2 separate regions of the Homo sapiens genome follow, and region 1 is linked to region 2. The links are contacts of gene promoters, found by promoter capture Hi-C in blood cells and fetal thymus (Javierre and others, 2016). All regions are on one chromosome and are shown on one strand. The core of a region is centred on a gene start or on the middle of the fragment in contact, and the rest is flanking DNA. Distances in the headings are between cores, read along the strand shown. Region 1 overlaps LINC03006 (long intergenic non-protein coding RNA 3006). Region 2 holds the start of TMEM248 (transmembrane protein 248).

Region 1 (5,926 bases), core at 2,473-4,972, 1.2 Mb before region 2:
TCAGTCAGTAGGTGACTGGTTAGTTGTATCATTCTTTTTGAGACAGGCTGCAGTGCAGTGGCAATATCATAGCTGACATAGCTGACTGCAACCTCCGCCTCCTAGATTCTGGCGATCCTCCCACCTCAGCCTCTCGAGTAGCTGGGACCATGGGCATGCACCACCACGCCCGGCTAATTTTTGTACTTTCTGTATAGATGGGGTCTCACTACATTGCCCAGGCTGGTCTTGAACTCCTAGGCACAAGTGATCCACCTGCCTCGGCCTCCCAAAGTGTCGGGATTACAGTCGTGAGCCACCGTGCCCCGGCTCCTAGTTGTGTAATTCTTACGAAGAACATCACGCAGCTGTTAATGAGGACTTCCCATTAGTCTTGATATGGCACACTCTCCAAGACATTTAAAGTATAACACACCCTACAGTGTGTATTAGGAATTGCCATTTGTGTGGGGAAATGATTATATTTACATATAAGTTTATAAATTCAGAAAGCATTCCGAAAATTCATCGAGTATCCGGGGTAACTGTGCTTGTCTCTAGTGTTGAACTAGTGGCGGGAGGAAGATTTAATTTCCACCACATGCCCTTTGGTGCCTTTTGAATTCAGAACAATTTCCGTTATCTATTAAAAATAAAATACTGGCCGGGCACGGTGGCTCATGCCTGTAATCCCAGCACTTTGGGAGGCCGAGACGGGAGGATCACTTGAGCTCAGCAGTATCACTTGAGCTCAGGAATTTGAGACCACCCTGGGCAACATGGTGAGGCCGTGTGTCTATAAAAAGAAAAAATGAAGTAAAATATCACGTGTAACTGAATCCCTGGAATTTGGCGGGCACCGGATACTGTAAACAATTGTGGAGCTCTTTGGAAATTTACCTTAAAAGGGAGTCCTCTCAAAGGCTGGACACCATCACTCTACAAGGGTGAGTTTTCAAATCTACCATAGAAGCCTAGGGCCTCAGCAGCATCCTGAGTCCTAATGACGGACAGGTTATGACTCAACTCCCATCGCACCAGTCCTGCAGCTTTCTAAAGGCATCCAGCACTTTCTACCTTGCATTCTATCTTCATCTTCGTTAGTCCTTACAGCACCGCATGATTCCGGCGGAGGGTGCTTATCAGACTAGCCTGTGTGTCCCCACGGCACCTACAGCACCGTCAAGCACAGGGTCCAGAAAGCTCCAATGAAAGTCGTGAAAGCAGCAAGGGAAGGAGACTGAGGAGCAAACCGCGCGAGTAGGGGCAGGAGGAGGCCCACCCTACGCCCTGTCCGGCGCGGGGCATAAGCCCTGCCTGCATCCTGAGATCCCGGGTCCGCAAACTTGGGCCCCACTGAGCAGCAACGCCAGAACCCAGAAGCACTTACTGCCAGGAACAGGGTACTCCAGTGCGCCATAGCGTCGCGGCCGCTGGGCGAGGGGTGGGACTGCAGGCACCGTGCAGCCGCGGACCAATGAGCGGGGGCCGGACAGCCCGTGGCCCAATAGCGGCGGCGCGGGCACGCTAGGGGCGGGCTGGGCGCGCCGACTTTTCCGGAAGATCCGGATAGTGCATCCCGGCCACGGCGCGCCTGCTCTGGGCTCTCCGCGTGCCGCGTCGCTTTCTTTTCTTCCTCTGGAGCAGTTATGGCGGCGGCGAAGACCCTGAACCCCAAGGCCAAGGTGGCCGGAGCGCAGGCGGCGCTGGCGTTCAACATTAGCGGGGCGCGGGGTCTGCAGGACGTGCTGAGGACCAACCTGGGGCCCAAAGGGACCATAAAGATGTAAGGTGGGGCTGGCGGGAGGGCTGGGTGGGCACCGCGCGCCGCTGCGCACCTGGCGGGCCCAAGACCGCAGATGGGAGCCCGCTGCCTCGGGGCTCCGCAGCCACCCTTCCTCGCGTCCTCCCGGGCCGGTCCTGTTCCCTGCTAAGCCCCACCGTTGCGTCCATTTCTTCCTGCGTCGATGCCGTCTCCATGGAGAAAAAAGCGGCTCTAGTGTGCGGCGTTCCCCGCCTTCTTGGGCTTCCAGACACCCTGAGGACTCTGCACAATCTCTGCGGGGACGGGGTGGGCACTACACTTGTCCTCCAGCCTGCGGGAGATAACTAGCTCCATATTCTCGGCTCCCTAAGATCGGGGAAAAGCCCGTTTTCTAATGGGACTTTTTAATTTAGTTTTCGTTGATAACTAGCTCCATATCCCTGGCTCCCTGAGATCTGGGAAAAGTCCTTTTTTGTTGTTTGTTTTGGTTTTTTGTTGTTTTTTTTTTTGAGACAGAGTCTCGCTCTGTCACCCAGGCTAGAGTGCAGTGGCGCGATCTCGGCTCACTGCAAGCTCCGCCTCCCGGGTTCATGTCTTTCTCCTGCCTCAGTCTCACGAGTAGCTGGGACTACAGGCGCCCGTCACCACGCCCAGCTTGCTTTATTTATTTATTTATTTATTTATTTTGTATTTTTAGTAGAGATGGGGTTTCACCGTGTTAGCCAGGATGGTCTCGATATCCTGACCTCGAGATCCACCCGCCTCGGCCTCCCAAAGTGCTGGGATTACAGGCGTGAGCCACCGCACCCGGCTGGAAAAGCCCATTTTCTAATGGGACTTTTTAATTTAGTTTTCGTTTTAATTTCGTTTTTGTCACAATTTGATTGATTTCTGTCCCTTAAACAGTCTTGTTTCTGGCGCTGGAGACATCAAGCTTACTAAAGACACAGGAGTTGACGATCAGCCCTGGCCAACATGGTGAAACTCAGTCTCTACTAAAAATACAAAAATTAGCCGGGCACGGTCCTGCACAGTGCGCTGCTTCACGAAATGGTGAGAGGTGCTCTGCTAGGTCAGAAATGTCTTGATTTTCCGTAGAACTTTTGCTTTGTAGAAAGATTTGCAATGTCCATTCTCAAGGTAGGAGAACATTCAGAAGTGACATGTAACAGTGACAGTAATAGTACTGACTGTGCCTGGAGTCTGACAGCCCTGTCTTTGAATCCCTGCTTTTTTGCCATTCACAGTCTGGGCTAAAGGACTGTAATTGTACATTAATTATAATAAAATTTGAAAAATTAAGGGTGGTTGACACAATCACATGGGCAAAATGCATGAGGATGGTTTTTCTCTTTATGGGTTTTTTTTTTTTTTTTTTTTAAGACAGAATCTCACTCTGTCGCCCAGCCTGGAGTCCAGTGGTTCACTGCAACCTCCGCCTCCTGGGTTCAAGTGATTCTCCTGTCTCAGCCTCCCAAGTAGCTGGGATTACAGGCTTGCTCCACCATGCCCAGCTAATTTTTGTATTTTTTGTAGAGATGGTATTTCACCATGTTGGCCAGGCCGGTCTTGAACTCATGACTTCAGGTGATCCGCCTGAGTCAGCCTCCCAAAGTGCTGGGATTACCAGGCGTGAGCCACAGCATCTGGCCGGTTTTTCTCTTTTTAAAACAGCAATTTCTCTGTTATGTCTCATCTCCATCTCCAACTGGAGGGGAGAGAAATCTCTTTGCTTTAACATTTTTAAAGTCTTAGGGATGGAGAATATGAGATTATTGAAGGGAGTATGCGTTTTACTCATCCCTAAATTCCCAAAACTTAACAGTTCAAATCCAAGAAAGGGAAATGATTTCCTGCTGATTTGAGTTCAGAATAATCAGGGTTTTGCTAGTAGTATACCATGCTATCAACATCCAGATGAAATATCTTTAATAAAGACTTGCTAATCTAGGAGGTGTTTTTGTTTTTACTGGGTTCAGTGGTGGCTCGTGTTAGCAGAAAAGTGGAGCCACGGTTAAACTTGACGTCAGAATTGTTTTGGGGCCGGGTGCAGTGGCTCATTCTTGTAATCTCAGCACTTTGGAAGGCCGAGGTAGGTGGATCACTTGAGGCCAGGAGTTCACGATCAGCCCTGGCCAACATGGTGAAACTCCGTCTCTACTGAAAATACAAAAATTAGCCAGGCATGGTTCTGTACGCCTGTAGTCCCAGCTACTCCAGAGGCTGAGGCAGGAGAATCGATTGCTTGAACCTGGGAGGCTGAGGTTTCAGTGAGCCAAGATTGTGCCACTGCACTCTCCAGCCTAGGTGACAGAGTGAGACTGTCACCAAAAAAAAAAAAAAATTTATTTGGGTTTTAGTGTGTGAGAAATACAGCATAAGTAGAGAGAAGCACGTAGAACATTTACAATTTAGGAAATAATTATAAAGTGGACACACACAACCACTATTGTAGTTAAGAAATAAATTGTTGCTACCACCTCAGAAGTCCCCTCCCACTGGAACTTCTCTCCAATCTCCAGAAGTCTGTTTTTCAGTTTTCTTTGAAAAAATTACAAACCTACGAAAATAATGATTATATTGTGTGTGCCCTTTACCTAGATTCACCAATTGTTTACATGTTGCTCCATTTCTTTTCTATTTTTCCTCTGAATCATTTGAAGGTAAGCTGCAGACATGTCATTTTACCTTTAAAATACAATTTTTTTCCGCTTTTTTTTTTTTTTAAGAGATAGGATTTTGCCATGTAGCCCAGGCTGGTTTCGAATTCCTGAGTTCAAGGGATCCATCTGCTGTGGCCTCCCAAAGTGCTGGGATTACAGGCATGAGCTAACGCACCTGACCTTTCCTTTTAAATTACTTGGCCATTGCAGAGTAACAGTGGAGGCTGCTGAGCTTTCATTTTAGGAGATACCTGGCTTATTCTCGTAGAGCCCTACACTTGCCTAAAGAGGCAAGGATGTAAAATTATCCGTTACTGTTAACTGTTAGCTGTCATCTTGCGTAAACTTTCACTGAGCCTCAAGCTTCCTCATCTGTAAAGTAGAGATAACCTGGGAAATAAATTACACATGAAAATGTTTCCATCATTATAATTGCATGCGCATGATAGCAAATTGTGACTTTTTAATCTTAGTAATTTGTAGCCAAACACTTGGGTAGCTTTTTCAAGTAGATAGTACTTAAAGAGGCCCTTCATGCATTTTATTTGTGGTATTTTTAGACTGTTTCATATTGTTTTAAGTGATTCGTTCTTTTTCTACTTTCAGCAAATTCAACACCCAACAGCTTCCTTAATAGCAAAGGTAGCAACAGCCCAGGATGATATAACTGGTGATGGTACGACTTCCAATGTCCTAATCATTGGAGAGCTGCTGAAACAGGCAGATCTCTACATTTCTGAAGTATGCACAACTTTTTTTTGTTTTGTTTTTTTGAGATGGGATTTCACTCTTGTTGCCCAGGCTGGGGTGCAATGGCATCTCGGCTCACTGCAACGTCTGTCTCCTGGGTTCAAGCAATTCCCAGCCTCAGCCTCCTCAGTAGCTAGGATTACAGGCATGCGCCACCACGCCCGGCTAATTTTGTATTTGTCGCAGAGACGGGGTTTCTCCACGTTGGTCAGGCTGGTCTCCAACTCCTGACCTCAGGTGATCCACCCATCTTGGCCTCCCAAAGTGCTAGGATTAAAGGCGTGAGCCACCGCGCCCGGCACACAACTCTTGTTTCTGTAATATATTATTGTATATAGGACGTGTCAGATACTTATTTATACAAATTGATGTGTTAATACTAGCGGAGGCCATACAGTAGGATTAGGGGGCTTAAATCTGGGTCTTTGTCTTGGTCTAAAACAAATTTGTTGTGAGCTTGGACAGGTTATGGAACCTTTTTTGGCCTGAAAATAATTTTGTAATCAAGTTGAATTGCCTATGTGATTTGTATCTGTCTTTAGATTAATAATTGAGATTTTAAAATGGGATGTTTAGGACTAGGCATATTTATTTGTTAGGAAAGAGACAACCAAAAGCTTACATTTAGATAAATTCCACTTTTTTAGCCCTGACTAGTTCCAAGGTTTAAAACAAACCTCAGTGACTACGAATCTATTGTCAGAATTTTCGGGTAAAAGAGAGCAGATAGTCTTTATTTATTTTTATTAGTAAATGATGGAATTAGTTT
Region 2 (6,274 bases), core at 2,568-5,067:
TCAAGTGATTCTCGTGCCTCAGTCTCTCGAGTAACTGGGATTACAGGCAGGCACCACAACGCCTGGCTATTTTTTGTATTTTTAACACAGATGGAGTTTCACCATGTTGGCCAGGCTGGTGTCAAATTCCTGACCTCAAGTGATCCACCAGCCTCAGCCTCGCAAAGTAGTGGGATTACAGGCATGAGCCACTGCGCACTGCCTGTTTTTGAATATTTTCATCACTCCCAAAAGAAACTCCCTGGCTATTACCACCTCCCAATTGCCTCTTACCCACCCTAGGCAACCCAACCACCAATCTGCTTTCTGTTCCATAAATGTGTCTATTCTGGACATTTCATAGACACGCAATCATCCAATACAGGGCCTTTTGTGACTGGCTTCTTTCACTTGGCATAATGTGTTCAACATTCATCTATGCTGTAGTATGCATTATTTCTTCATTCCTTTTCATGGCTGAATACCATTCTGCTTGTGAATTTGCTACATTTTGTTTTTCCATTAATCAGTTGATGAACATTTGAGTTGCTTCCACTTTTTGGCTATTATGATGCTGCTATAAACACTCCTGTACAACTTTTTGTTTGGAATTTTTGTTTGCAATTCTCTTGGATCTCCAGGAGTGGAATTGTGAGGTCAAATGGTAACTTTTATTTTTTTTGGCGACAAGGTCTGGCTCTGTCGCCCAGGCTGAAGTGCAGTGGCGTGATCTCAGCTCACTGCAACCTCTGCTTCCTGGGTTCAAGCCACTCATCTCAGCCTCCCAAGTAGCTGGGATTACAGGCACCGGCCACCAAACCCGGTTAATTTTTTGTATTTTTAGTAGAGACGGGGTTTCGCCATGTTGGCAAGGCTGGTCTCAAACTCCTGACCTCAAGTGATCCACCCACCTTGGGCTCCCAAAGTGCTGGGATTAAAGGCGTGAGCCACCACATGTGGCCAGTAACTTTTTATTTTTTTAAATAAAGCCATATGTCTTAGAACTTGTTCATTTATTTATGAGATGGGGTTTGCTATGTTTTCCAGAATGGTTTTTTTTTTTTTTTTTTTTAGACAGTCTCACTCTGTTGCCCAGGCTGGAGGGCAGTGGCGCAATCTCAGCTCACTGCAACCTCTGCCTCCCAGGTTCAAGTGATTCTCCTGCCTCAGCCTCCTGAGTAGCTGGGATTACAGGTGCCCACCACCATGCCCAGCTAATTTTTTTATTTTTATTTTTTAGTAGAGACAGGGTTTTACCATGTTGGCCAGGCTGGTCTTGAACTCCTGGGCTCAAGCGATCCTCCTGCCTCAGCCTCCCACTGTTGGGACTACAGGCGTGAGCCAACACACCTGGCTTCAAATGATAACTCTATGTTAAACTTTTTGAGAAATTGCCAGATTGTTGTTTAAAAGTGGCTGCACCATGTAATCTTTTTTTAAAAAAAGAATTTTACAATCCAGCTGGACATGGTAGCTCACACGTATAATCCCAGCTCTTTGGGAAGCTGAGTAAGGAGGATTGCTTAAGGCCAGAAGCTCAAAACCAGCTTGGGCAACACAGTGAGACCTTGTCTCTATTTAAAAAGGTTTCTTTTTTTTTTTTTTTTTTTTTACTGGACTCGGGCTCACACCTGTAATCCCAACAGTTTGGGAGGCCAAGGTGGGCAGATCACTTGAGGCCAGGAGTTCGTGACCAGCCTGACCAACATGGCAAAACACCTTCTCTACTAAAAATACAAAAATTAGCGGGGCGTGGTGGCATGCGCCTGTAATCCCAGCTACTCAGGAGGCTGAGGCAGGAGAATCGCTTGAACCCAGGAGGCAGAGGTTGCAGTGAGCCAAGATCGTGCCACTGCACTCCAGCCTGGGCGACAGAGCGAGACTCCATCTCAAAACAAAAACAAAAATTTTTTTTGAAATCCCATACAAGGCAGCTAGGATGAAAGGTTTGAGGTTGCCTTTTTTACATTCTCCTACGGTCTCAATCACTAAGTCATATATGGTGCCATTGGTGGTGGGGCTCCTTTAATTACATTATCAGTCCTAGCCTGGTAAGGGACATCTCATTAGGAAGTTTGGTTCCATCATTATATACACAATTCAATACTGCCTGCACTTGCAGATAATGTCACACCCATTACAACAAGGAAGATAATTCAAATGGTGCAAGATAACAAAAGAGGGCAAGAATCATGGAAATAAGAGGGTATTCAGTGAAGGAACTGAGCCATTGTGTTGAACATTACAGGCTTCACCTGATAAACTTTTGTTAAAGATGGCTGGGTGTGGTGGCTCATGCCTGTAATCCCAGCACTTTGGGAGGTGGAAGTGAGCGGATCACTTGAGCCCAGGAGTTTGAGACCAGCCTGAGCAATTTGGGGGAAACCCCATTTCTGTGAAAAATATGAAAATTAGCTGGGCACGATGGTGCACATCTGTGGTCCCAGCTACTCAGGAGGCTGAGACAGGAGGATCACTTCAGCTTGGGAGGCCGAGTCTGCAGTGAGCCATGATCATGCGACTGCACTCCAGCTTGGGTGACAGAGCAAGACCTTGTCTCAAAAGCAAGAACAACAAAACTTTATTACCTTTAAAGCACCCTGTACTCCTCCCCCATCCCATTCCCCTAACACTTAACATGAAGTTTATACATCTTTTTCTCATGCTTCATGTCAGTTCAAACAATTATGTATGCATCTCTAAACAATATGTTATGAACTTGCCTGTTTTGAATTTTACATAATGGAAATATGTAGCAGTGTACCATTTTGTGATTTGGTCCCTGCCAATATAGTCTGCAATTGACTACCATAATTGTGTGAGCTGTATTAAATAATTTTCACTGGTCTTTTGTACCCGATTAAACACGAAGATGGGCCAGGCGTGGCAGCTCACACCTGTAATCCCAGATCCTCCCGAGGTGGGAGGATCACTTGGGTCCAGTAGTTCGAGACCAGCTTGAGTAACATAGGGAGACCCTGTCTCTACAAAAACAAACCAAACCATGAATATATCAAAGTTGGTTTTTACATTTGACTGTATGGACATCTGCTTTTTCTCCCCAATTTTTAGTGAGTCATACTGCTGCTAAAAACATTGGTGTTGCTATGAGCATTATTTTGTCTACTTGTGCATAGGTGCAACTGTTTCTCCAGGGTAATATATTCTCAAGAGAGGATGTGTATATCTTTAAGTGTACTGCATAATGCCAAATTACTTTGCAAAGTGATTGTACAAAATTATACTTTAAAAATTTTCATTTTCATTTTATTTTATTTATAAATAGAGTCAGAGACTCCCTATGTTACCCAGGCTGGTCTGGAACTCCAGGACTCAAGCGATCCTCCTGCCTTGGCCTCCCAAAGTGCTGAGATTACAGGCCTGAGCCACCGCGCCTGGTCCAAAATTACATGTTTATCAGCAGTGATTAATATACAAGCACATCAACAGACACACGCATAGCACACACATGAGCATGCACACGTGTGCGCACTCCCTACACATCTACGCATGCACACACCCATACCATCACACACCACACACGCGCACACAGATGCACATACATGCACTCACTGCACACACCGTTGTACACGATGCACACTACAAGCCACATACACGCACTACGCACACACGCACACGCACAACACCAGACCGGCACACAGACCCATAAACGTCCATCACGCACTCCACGCACGTCCGCATGCACGCTACCCGTCCCGGAAGCGTGGTCTCCGCCGCCTGCCTCTGACGAAGCTTGTCCCGGCCGCGCCACCGTCGGACGCCCGGGGTCGGAGGTCACGGCGGCGTTGGAGGTGGCGTGGTTTTTTTTTTTTTTTTCACCCGGAAACCGCGGTTGCCGGAGCCCGAACTGAGGCGGCGGCGGGAGCCCGGTTGGCGTCTGGTCTTCGCGTCGGCCCCGCGGAGCCAGACGCTGCCCCCGGCGCGGGGAGAAGATGGTGCCTAGCGGCCTCGGGCCCGCCACGCGCCGCCACGAGTGAGCCCAGCGCGACCGCGGGCGTCCGCCGAGCAGCTGGCCCGGCTGGGCCCGGGGCGCGCAGCTGCCCGCCGGGGCGGGGTGAGCCGGGGCTGGAGGGCGGGCTGGGGTCGGGCCCAGTCGGGGCTGCCCGCGGGGCCGGGAGCGGGGAGCGTGCTGGTCGGGAGCGGCTCCTCCGCCGGCTTTTTTCACCGCTTCTCAGGGTGCAGACCCCGCCCCAACTGCTGGCGGGGGTCGCCCAGCATCGGCCGACCTCGGCCTGGTCCCCCCACACTGGGGTTTGCCCACTCGCGTCCCCCGAGCCAGGGTTCCCTGCCGGCCTTGGAGATGGCGGGACTTCCCACGTCTGGAGCCGAGGCCTGGATAATTCGGATTTGGCACGGGAAACATCTTGGTCGTTTGCCATTTTTCGGCTTTGGGGAGTGTTTGCGTTTCTTCTCCGTTTGGCAGTGAAACACATCTCAGAAAGGTGGGAGGGAGAGACTCACGTACGTCCACAAAGTTAAATGGCATAGTGGTGTTCCCTGTGTCAAGCTTGGTAAATATCCGGAATGGGGTGGATTCTTTCTTCATGTTTTTAATAAAATGAGGAGTGATCGCAAGGTAATCTAGAGGCATGTAGTTTCAGTTCCCTTGATGGGGACCATCAGAAATAAAACCAGGCTTGTTGTGCTGTTTTGAGTCGTTTGAACGCCGTACCCATCGGACAGCTGGTGAGGAGGCCTTTGTGGAAGAATCTGATGTCTGAGTTTAGTTCTCAACTAGCAGGTGACAGCCCTCACTGGCTGATGAATGGTGAGCTTCTCTGAAGCCTGCTTTGTAAAGATTGTGGCTTCCGCCTGAACTGCTTCTTTCCTGCCTCAAAGGTGAGCCGCTACGGGAGGGAATGGGAAGAAAAACTCCGAGACTGCTGATGAATATGTGATAAAGTGGTTTGTCTCGATAGCACCATCAGCTTGGGTCAGCTTAGGGTCTCAGCATGTGTATCTCATTTGTAGATGAGTGTTCCATCAGCGCTTGACCGATAAGGGTGTCCATCTACTTCCTCTTTTCATCTAGGGATTCTGACAGGAAATAGACCTGTCGCGCACCTAAGGTATACTTAGGTGTGCATTGACCCTAAGTGCATTTACTCTCTAGGATTAAGGATTTGGAGTTTCAACTTGTAGTGAAGATTCTGGGAGAATTCCTGTGGCCTGAATCAGGTGGACTGGAATCACTGCTAGCACCGGAGTCTCAATGCTAAAATCACCAAAGGCTAGTTAACTGGCACCTTCTCCGTTTAGGCTCTAGCTGCATCTGTGGCAAGGAGGAAAGGTAGATTATATATATATATGTTTTTGAGACAGAGTCTCACTCTTGTCGCCCAGGCTGGAGTGCAGTGGTGCGATCTCTGCTCACTGCAACCTCTGCCTCCCAGGTCCAAGCAATCCTCCTGCCTCAGCCTCCCTAGTAGCTGGGATTACAGGTGCCCGCCACCATGCCCAGCTAATTTTTGTATTTTTAGTAGAGACAAGGTTTCACCATGTTGGCCAGGCTGGTCTTGAACTCCTGACCTCAGGTGATCCATCCTCCTCGGCCTCCCAAAGTTCTGGAATTATAGGCGTGAACCACCCGCACCTGGCATAAGTGCGAATATATTAATAGTTTCTGCCTGTAAGGAATGTACTTAGAGGAAGCAATAGGCTAGAAAATGTGGCAGGACTGAATTGCCATAGTGGTATACCAACTGTTCAGGATTTTGTTATGGTTAGGATCAGAAACTAACTTTTTTTTTTTTCTTGAGGCGGAGTCTTGCTCTGTTGCCTAGGCTGGAGTGCAGTGGCGCGAAGTTAGCTCACTGCAACCTCTGCCTCTCAGGTTCAAGCGATTTTTCTGCCTCAGCTGCCTGAGTAGCTGGGATTACAGTTGCCTGCCACCACGCCTGGCTAATTTTTGTATTTTTGGTAGAGACGAGGTTTCATGTTGTTGGCCAGGCCTTGAACTCCTGACCTCAGGTGATCTGCCCACCTTGGCCTCCCAAAGTGCTGGAAGTATAGGTGTGAGCCACCTTGCTCAGCCCGAAACTCGTGAAGTAAACTTTGAGGTGGACCTAGAAAGATCAAGAGGATTTGGGCCATTCAGAATTAGCTGGGAAATGAAAAAACTAGGGCCAGTTGGTGGACAAGCACCCAGGCTAGGTAGCTGGACAATCAGTGCCTAGAAATATTGGCAGAGGCAGCTAGTTAAGGGTTAAATGCTTTTCTAAGAAAGATAAGCATAAGCTACCCAGTCTAGTTTCTCGTAGATTTCTGGGTTTTT

Evidence for each region. Contacts are between HindIII fragments. The CHiCAGO score rates a contact against its expected background, and 5 or more counts as called.
Region 1: a contact is called between a fragment that was not itself captured here and the fragment with the promoter of TMEM248 in region 2, in 4 of 17 cell types (fetal thymus, naive CD8 T cells, non-activated CD4 T cells and 1 more). The highest score is 7.2, in fetal thymus.

The regions. Positions count from the first base shown.
Region 1 is chr7:65,749,514-65,755,439 of GRCh38, forward strand. The region is part of intron 2 of LINC03006 (long intergenic non-protein coding RNA 3006); the gene reads right to left. It also overlaps the pseudogene CCT6P1. Among named protein-coding and RNA genes, the nearest start is that of SNORA22, 3.0 kb to the right of the region's middle. RefSeq lists enhancers at 964-1,073, 1,104-1,373, 1,734-1,803 and a silencer at 1,394-1,613. The HindIII fragment of the contact is 2,092 bases long and covers 2,677-4,768 here.
Region 2 is chr7:66,917,408-66,923,681 of GRCh38, forward strand. TMEM248 (transmembrane protein 248) reads left to right here and starts at 3,818. Exons shown (of 7, transcript NM_017994.5): 1 at 3,818-4,054. RefSeq lists a silencer at 3,860-4,109. The HindIII fragment of the contact is 775 bases long and covers 3,731-4,505 here.